Regions from separate parts of the Homo sapiens genome. Here region 1 is linked to region 2. Evidence: promoter capture Hi-C in 16 types of primary human blood cells and fetal thymus (Javierre and others, 2016). All regions are on one chromosome and are shown on one strand. Each heading gives the region's core, a stretch centred on a gene start or on the middle of the fragment in contact. The rest is flanking DNA. Distances are from core to core; before and after follow the strand shown. Region 1 overlaps LINC00265 (long intergenic non-protein coding RNA 265). Region 2 holds the start of STARD3NL (STARD3 N-terminal like).

What was found. The method cuts DNA at HindIII sites, captures the fragments that hold promoters and counts their contacts. A CHiCAGO score of 5 or more calls a contact.
Region 1: a fragment that was not itself captured here is called in contact with the fragment with the promoter of STARD3NL in region 2 in 1 of 17 cell types (fetal thymus); the score reaches 8.2 in fetal thymus.

What each region holds. Positions count from the first base shown.
Region 1 is chr7:39,734,072-39,738,359 of GRCh38, forward strand. The region is part of intron 1 of LINC00265 (long intergenic non-protein coding RNA 265); the gene reads left to right. Among named protein-coding and RNA genes, the nearest start is that of LINC00265, 2.6 kb to the left of the region's middle. RefSeq lists enhancers at 1-516, 721-1,492. The HindIII fragment of the contact is 3,477 bases long and covers 1-3,047 here.
Region 2 is chr7:38,175,196-38,179,551 of GRCh38, forward strand. STARD3NL (STARD3 N-terminal like) reads left to right here and starts at 3,050. Exons shown (of 9, transcript NM_032016.4): 1 at 3,050-3,225. RefSeq lists enhancers at 1-949, 2,697-2,776 and a silencer at 3,027-3,306. The HindIII fragment of the contact is 5,243 bases long and covers 2,255-4,356 here.

The sequences.
Region 1 (4,288 bases), core at 59-2,558, 1.6 Mb after region 2:
CCTCACAGTCATAATCTTCCTTGGAATGTAGCAATCTGAAACCAACCACATCGTTGTAGGTATGCAACTTGCATGCACATTTGTAATCCTGCTGGAATGTCCCTGCCTCCGTCTATATAATTGAAACCTTAACTTCACCTTGGAAACGCTGACATCATTTGTTTGGAGTCAGCGCTTTCCTGGATGGCCATCCTCAATCTTTGTGTTTAAATAAACTCTATGCTTATTTACATTTTCTGAACTTCATTGTTTAAGGTTGACAGAATGCAGGGGGCAGGGGGACAGTGCAGTGGAGGGACATTAGAACCCCTAGAGTCCTGTGACTCCCAGTCAGAGGGGTCGCTCAGCTGCCAGGTGTCTTTCAAGGGTTCAAGATGAAGTGACGTGCCCCAGGTCCCACAGTGAGGAAGTGGCTGAGTCAGAACATAGGTAATTTCCAGAGCTTCTAATTAGCAATTCACAAGGAGATCCTTCAGAGCCTCTGCTTCCCCATTTGTAGAATGAGGATTGTAAACCCTTCTTCAGTGGGATGCCCCTAGAATTATGTGAAACCACTACAAAAAGTGCCAAACACATGGCTTTTAATAAATGGCCATTATGTCTTTAATTTTTAATAAAGAAAATGGGTTCTTATTAAATTTGTATTCTGTGTTGGGTCATAATGCTTATTCTTCTGTTAACTCGTTCCTCTTTAAGCTAGTCTGGCTTCCTGGTCTTCCTCTCTCCACCTCACCTCCCACTTCTGGAATTCCTAGGGCTTCAGCTTGCTTCTCTCTTACCCTGGTCACTTCACTCTCCCCTCCAGTAGATCTTGAGAGGTCTGTACCTTAATTTGCTAGTCTCCTTCCCGTTCCAGGCATCAGTTTTTTTATATATAGATTTACCCTAGGCCAGGCACAGTGGCACACACCTGTAATCCCAGCACTTTGAAAGGCCAAGGTGGGCGGATCACGAGGTCAGAAGTTCGAGACCAGCCTGGCCAACATGGTGAAACCCTGTCTCTACTAAAAGTACAAAAATTAGCCAGGCATAGTGTGTGTGCCTGTAATCCCAGCTACTCGAGAGGCTGAGGCAGGAGAATCTCTTGAACCCAGGAGGTGGAGATTGTAGTGAGCTGAGATCGTGCCACTGCACTCCAGCCTAGATGACAGAGCAAGACTCGGTCTTGAAAAAAAACAAAAACAAAAATTAGCCGGGCATAGTGCACGCCTGTAATCCCAGTTACTCTGGAGGCTGAGGCAGGGGAATTGCTTGAAACCTGGGAGGCGGGGGTTGCAGTGAGCTGAGATCATGGCACTGCACTCCAGCCTGGGTGACAGTGTAAGACTCCGTCTCAAAAAAAAAAAAAAACAAAAACAACAACAACAACAACAACAACAATCAAAAATAAATAAATAATAAAATAGGAAAAAAGTTAGATTTACTGTAATCTGCTGTAAAATGGGACCCTGTCTCTTACATTCCCTCTGTCCTCACTATTCCCAAAGACAAGGTTACAGAACTTTGCCATAATTAAGGGTTTTGCAGTTTTTATTATGGAAACACAATTGGATGCAAGGAGAATAACAAACTAGAGGTAATTATGGAGCTTAAGGAAATAACACCAAGTCATCTGCCAGATGCTTAGATGTTGGCATCCCTGTGGGTACTGGCCTAAGCTGGCTTCTCACCTCAAGTACCCTCTCTGCAGATAGTTCCTACCTCTTTACTGGCAGCTCAGATCTCTCCTGACCTATGGACTCATGTCCTTCTTCCATTCAAGAGTATTGATCTCTCCACTTCTCTAAGTAGCTCTCAAGAGGAATAAACCAGTGAGAGACAAGCCCCCCATTTCTGACCTAACTTAACAACCTGGAGGTGGGTGAACCAGGCAGGAGCCAGCCAGATTGCAGGGATGCCGACAGTCTCAGTGATGACAGCCCTTTTTAGCTATGGATAACCCAGCATCACTGATCTCAGCTGGTGGCAGGAAGCTATCCCTAGGGTGCATGGAGGTCTGGCAGTTCTTATCTCAGAACCAATAATCCTAGACCAGGGAGACTGGCCTTTAGCCAGGCCTCAAAAACCACTGAAAGAGCTGAGTGATGACAAAGTGAAGTAGCAAGGCTCGTGCTGCTAGGGCTGATGGTTAACGACCTCAGTTTCCTCATCTGTAAACTAGTGAGAAAAATACTATCTGCCTCATGGGTAGTTATGGGGAATGAATGAGTGAATGCATATGAAGCGTTACTAAGTGGTATGTAAATCTTAGCTATTATTATCGTTTGGAGAGGTGAGAAAATGGGGTAGCTTTTTTAGTGGATAAAATAGAAAGATTTTCCACACATATCTCTTCTTTTGCCAATGTGGTCTCTTTATATGAACATATTCGTAAGTTAACCTTTGTTTTTAGTTTCTGTCTTACTGAAAGAATTGCAATATTTACACACTGTCACAGTATAAATGAACTTCTGTTTCATAAATTATGTAGTATTCTTTTTCTTTTTTTTGAGATAGGGTCTCACTCTGTTGCCCAGGCTGGAGTGCAGTGGCACAATCACGACTCACTGCAGATTCAACCTCCCGGGCTCAAGCAATCCTCTTGCCTCAGCCTCTGGAGTAGCTAGGATAATGCCACCATGCCACCATGCCTGGCTAATATTTTATTTTTATTTTATATAGAGACAGGGTCTCATTATGTTGCTGAGGCTGATCTCAATCTCCTGGGCTCAAGCGAACCTCCTGCTTCAGCCTCCCAAAGTGCTGGGATTACAGGTGTGAGCCACTGTGCCCAGCCAACTATGTAGCTTTCATGTACTTATATGCTTCATAGTCTATCAGGCTTCTGACAGTTGCATTTTTCTCCTTTGGAACATCAGCAAGACGTTGGATTTATACTAGGACTAGCCATGTTGGGGGAGGTACCTCTTAACATATTGAGGACATGGAGTTTTGTTTGGAAGGGACTTCAGTTTCCTCTCTACCCACCAAATGCTATGCTTATGCCTATGGCTTGTCCTTCTGGTTGGGCTTATTGAAAGAAAAAAAAAAGAAACTTAGGAGGCAGAAGCTTTGAGGCCAGGGACTGTTGAGTGTGGCATAGTCGGTTGGTCTGTCTGAAGTCACTTGGTTAACTATGTTGAATAGAAAAATACAGTCAAAGAGCCCACCTGCTGTTCTCCAGGGATCCTGAGACGTATGCCACCTCCATGCTGTTACAGTATCAGAGCCCAGAGGGGCGTAGGTGGAAACCTCACAAACAGTCTGGCTTCTTCTAAACCCTTTCAGATGTTGATCCTTTATATATCAAACTTGGAGCACAAGTGCGGCAACTCAACCTGCTGACAGGATTAAACAAGAATACCTGAGGCCAGGTGCGGTGGCTCATGACTGTAATCCCAGCACTTTGGGAGGCCAAGGTGGGTGGATCACTTGAGGTCAGGAGTTCGAGACCAGCCTGACCAGTATGATGAAACCCCATCTCAACTAAAAAGACAAAAATTAGCCAAGTGTGGTGGCACACACCTATAGACCCAGCTACTTGGGAGGCTCAGCCAGGAGAATCGCTTGAACCTGGGAGGTGGAGGTTGCAGTGCACCGAGATCATCCCATTGCACTCCAGCCTGGGCGACAGAGAGAGACCCTGCCTCAAAGAAAAAAAAAAAGAATATCTGTCCTAACCCACCAATCCCATTTCTTTTGCTCTCTTGAAGGAAAAGGGTCCAGGAACTGTTGGCAATTTTTATCCAAAGTAACTGACACAAAGACAAAAATACTTTATCAAAACAAGAGAGACTACAGACTATTTATTAATGCCCTGGAAAACTGGGCATCTTTTGAAATGATGTGGTGTATCTGAAACCCAAATTCTGAAATTAAGTTCCTTGGATACACCAAAAGCAGGGCAATGACATTTATTGGTGTCTTTTGTGTGTCAGTTAACAAAAATGCTTTACATATGTTGAATAATTTTAAGCCCTCAAAACAAAACTATCTTCACTTTTATGGGTCTAGAAAAGGAAGCTCTAAAATTGAGGTCATACCTACAAAGTACCATGACTAACGTGGTTGTGGCTGGAACACCATTCTGGATCTATCTACAGGTTCTTAGGGGAGGCAATCATCTGTTTATCAATAGCTGGGCTGTCTTATAGTGAGTAAAATAGCTAAAAAAAAAAAAAAAAAATATATATATATATATATATATATATATATATGTTTGTTTGTTTGTTTTGTTTTGTTTTGTTTGAGACAGAGTCTTGCCTGTCACCCAGGCTGGAGTGTAGTGGTGCCATATTGGCTCACTGCA
Region 2 (4,356 bases), core at 1,800-4,299:
AATTGGTGAGTTTCTTGGTCTCGCTGACTTCATGAATAAAGCTGCGGACCCTCACGGTGAGTGTTACAGTTCTTAAAGATGGTGTGTCCAGAGTTTGTTCCTTCTGGAGGGTTCATGGTCTTGCTGACTTCAGGAGTGAAGCCACAGATCTTCACAGTAAGTGTTACAGCTCTTTAAGGTGGCATATCCAGAGTTGTTTGTTTCTCCCGGTGGGTTCGTGGTCTCGCTGACTTCAGGAGTGAAGCTGCAGACCTTCGCAGTGAGTGTTACAACTCTTAAAGCAGCGCATCTGGAGTTGTTCATTCCTCCTGTTGGGTTCGTGGTCTCCCCGGCTTCAGGAGTGAAGCTGCAGACATTTGCGGTGAGTATTACAACTCATAAAGGTAATGCGGACCCAAAGAGTGAGCAGCAGCAAGATCTATTGCAAAGAGCGAAAGAACAAAGCTTCCACAGTGTGGAAGTCGAGGTGGGTTGCTGCTACTGGCTCGGGTGGCCTGCTTCTATTCCCTTATTTGGCCACACTCACATCCTGCTGATTGGTCCATTTTACAGAGCGCTGATTGGTCCATTTACAGAGTGCTGATTGGTCCGTTTTTACAGAGTGCTGACTGGTGCGTTTACAAACCTTTAGCCAGACACAGAGTGCTGATTGGTGCATCTACAATCCTTTAGCTTGACAGAAAAGTTCTCCAAGTCCCCACCCGATTAGCCAGACACAGAGTGCTAATTGGTGCATTTACAAACCTTTAGCTAGACACAGAGTGCTGATTGGTGTGTTTACAATCCTTTAGCTAGACAGAAAAGTTCTCCAAGTCCCCACCCAACCTAGAAGCCCAGCCGGCTTCATCTCTCAGTTTCCTTTAGTTCTTTGAGCATATGTAAGACAGTTGACTTAAATCATTATCTAATAAGTCCACTATCTGGGCTTCCTTAGGAATGGTTTCCATCAATTTCTTTGAGACTTCAGAGGCTACACATGAGTGAATGCAATTAAATCCACAATGTGATGCCTCTACATATTCACCAGAATGTATAACATTTAAAAAGGAAAAGAAAAAGGAAGAACACAAAACACAAATGAGTATAGTAAGTGTTGGCAAAGATGCAGAGTAACTGAAATTTTCATTCACGACTAGGGCATGTATAAATTAGTAAAACCTAAAAACTATTTGGCAGTGTCTATTAATGTTGAATATATTGAATATATACCCTGTGCATAGTAACACTACTTCCAGGGATCTTCCAAAATCAAATGTGTAACTATGTGCATCATAAGACAGGTACAAGAATATTCATAGCAGCGTCATTTGTAATTACCCCAAACTTTAAATAATCTAATGTCAAACAACAGTAGAATAGGCAAGTAAATTTTAGAATTATATACAAAAATGAAAATGAAACTATTATATTCTTGAATATGGATCAATCTTACAAATATAGTATTAAGCAAAAAGAGCCACATAAGAGTGCGTATTATGTATGACTATTTATAAACATTCAGAAGCAGGCAAAACTAATTGGGTGGTAGGATTCAGAATTGTGCCTATCTGTGTGTAGGGGTATAATGACTAAGACTGAGCATGAGGAAAGCTTCTAAATTGCTGGTAAACATTTAAAATTTTGCTGTGAGGCGGTGGTTACACAAGTTTGTTCACACTGTCACTAAGACAAGCACTTATGATTATTACACTTATTTTGTATATGTGTTATGCTTTAAAAGGTTTTCACATCTATCAGTTTATAAAATTTTTTTAAATTGTATTTTATCAGTATTGGCGAGGATACAGGGAAAAATTGCTCAAATACTAGCAGTGGGAATGTAAGTTAAAACAACTACTCAGGGGAGCAAATCAGTGAAATCTATTAAGGATTTACATCGTGCAAACTCTGTGATCCAGTACATTCTCTTGTTGGTATCTGCACTCTAGAGAAATACTTGGACCTAAGTACAAAAAGGCATCTACATATATATTTATGGTACCATTGCTTCTCATAATAATATTAATAAACAAACGTGAGGGTGGGGGAATGGTACATTAATTATGTATGTATATATATACACATATTGGTTCTGAGGACATGCAGCATTTTCAGAGAATGAGGTAGATTTATATACAGATATGGAAAGATTTCAATGCTAAGTGTAAAAAAGTAACATCTACACTTGCAAATGCACAGGAACTAGGAGTCATCATCTACAGACTGGGTTTGTAATTAGGGCCTAAAAGGGATATAAGCATAATTGTAACGTTTAAGCTTTTTTTTTTTTTCGCATGGACAAAATCTTACTTGTGTAATTTAAAATTAATAACGGTACTTAGAATGACTTTGGAAAAATATACAAATAATGAAATGGGGATCCAAAGAATGTTCACTGTATACCTCTGTACTTCTAAAAATGTGAATAAGTGTAGCATCCGTTGGGAGAAAAGTTTAATTAAATTTTAAATAAAACAATAAAAGGTGCCTAACTTCGTGTGAAAACAGACATATAGATATAATTAAATGTGACTACCGCTTAGAGATGTTAGTTATGAACTAGGAGCGCTGAGAAAAGGTATCCTAAATAGGTCTGGGGGAAGTGAGAGTTAGAAGAGGTGACTCTTGAGCTGAGTACCGACATAGAAATGGTATGCCCTGTTTTTATTCCTGGAGGGCTCAGCATGAGGTGCCCAAGAGGCCCTGAAACCCATTTCCATGACATTTTCCCACGAGCTGGAGCATAAACCCCCACCGAATAACTGAAGGGAAGCGGAAGGCGCAGAAACGCGGACGAAGAGGAAGCGGGCGCTTGTTAAACCGTGCGATGCACAATGCGGGAAAGTCCAACCAGCTCCGTGTTTCAAAGCTGGATGCCCAGATTTCCCACCCATTCCTACAGGCAGACCGGCTCGCCCTCTCCCTCCTTCCCGCGTCGTTTACTGGTCAGTAGAAGATTGACATGTCATCTGGCCAATAGGTTGGCTCCTCTATGGAGGCACTCAGGAACCAGTCGGGTCTTTGGTCCCTCGAGCGAGATGCGAGCTGTGTGCGTCGACGTCAGCGTGCTGACGTCACGGGCCGGAGGTCCCGGGGCTGCTGGGTGCGGGCGGTGGGCTGCGCGTTGTCCGCTGGACTGGGTCCCGGTCACGCCCCGCCAAGCCCCGCCCCTCAGGCCGGGGCGCGACCGCGGATCCGCAGTTCCCGGGCCAGCCTGGGGCGGCCGGCCAGGAACCACCCGTTAAGGTAGGCTGGGTTTCTCGTTCCCCTATTTGACAGGTTGGAAAACTGAGTCTCCTGGGTCAGATGACTTACATGGGGGCGTACAGGGGACCCGCGGACGGAGGCCATATCCTGGTCCTGTTCTGTTTCCTGAGTCCTGCGCGAGCCTCCAGGGGAGGAGGAGGGGCGAGGCAGGCTGTGCTCATAATGGACACAAGAGTGAAGTTGCAGAATGCTGAGCCCCGCTGCTCCCACGGCGTGGGCCGGGATTCAGGGATGGATATAGGTAGCGGGAGTGTCCTCATTCCTCCAGCCTGCGGACCCTGAGGAGTCCCCGGTGGGGTCGGCCCCGGGCTGGCGCCATGGGCCCCCAAGAAGGACCAAGAATTGGTGACTGGGTGTAATGCGTGGGTTGTCCAGACACAGGCGGTTGTGAGTCTCTTCTATTCATTGAGAAAAGTCGTGTTCAAAAAAAAAAAAAAGAAAGAAAGCACGAATCATGAATGTTCTCCCTGTGGTTTCAGTTAACTGCTTCACCTACTCGTAGATATCTCGCCATTGTTTGAAATCTTAGTTGCTTGAATACTTTTGATTTAGGGTTAGGGATTTTTCCCCCTCTCTTTTAGTTCAAACATGGGTGGACATTGTGGAACTTTTCTTTGTTCACTGTGTCATTTGTCTTCTATTTCACAGATGGAATCACTGAATTCATCACTTGACACAGTACTAGTTTGGATAAGTTTAGCAAGGTAACCAAGTAACGGGTCTAATTAAATCTTTACTGGAATTAGTCCAGTTTGCCACATTTCCTTGTTAGGAAGAATTCTGAAAGGTAATTCCCGTCTGTATACCATATCTACCCATACGCCTCTTTCTAGAAGCAGGATCTCACAAAACGACTTATGGTATCCTTGTTTTATTGATGGATTCTGATAAGGTGGTGGATTATTCATGTTCATAAAATGAAAACATACAATATGTTGTCGTGTAGAAGTCACTGTCTTTAAAATCTAACTGTCTCAAACATTGGTCTTTTAAAACTGCATTATTGCATTGCCTAAAACTGCATGAAAGAAATGAAATGAAACAGCCTCTGAGGGATATTACCTTACTTATGTTCACAGAAGGATGGTGATTAACATCATTTGGATTTAT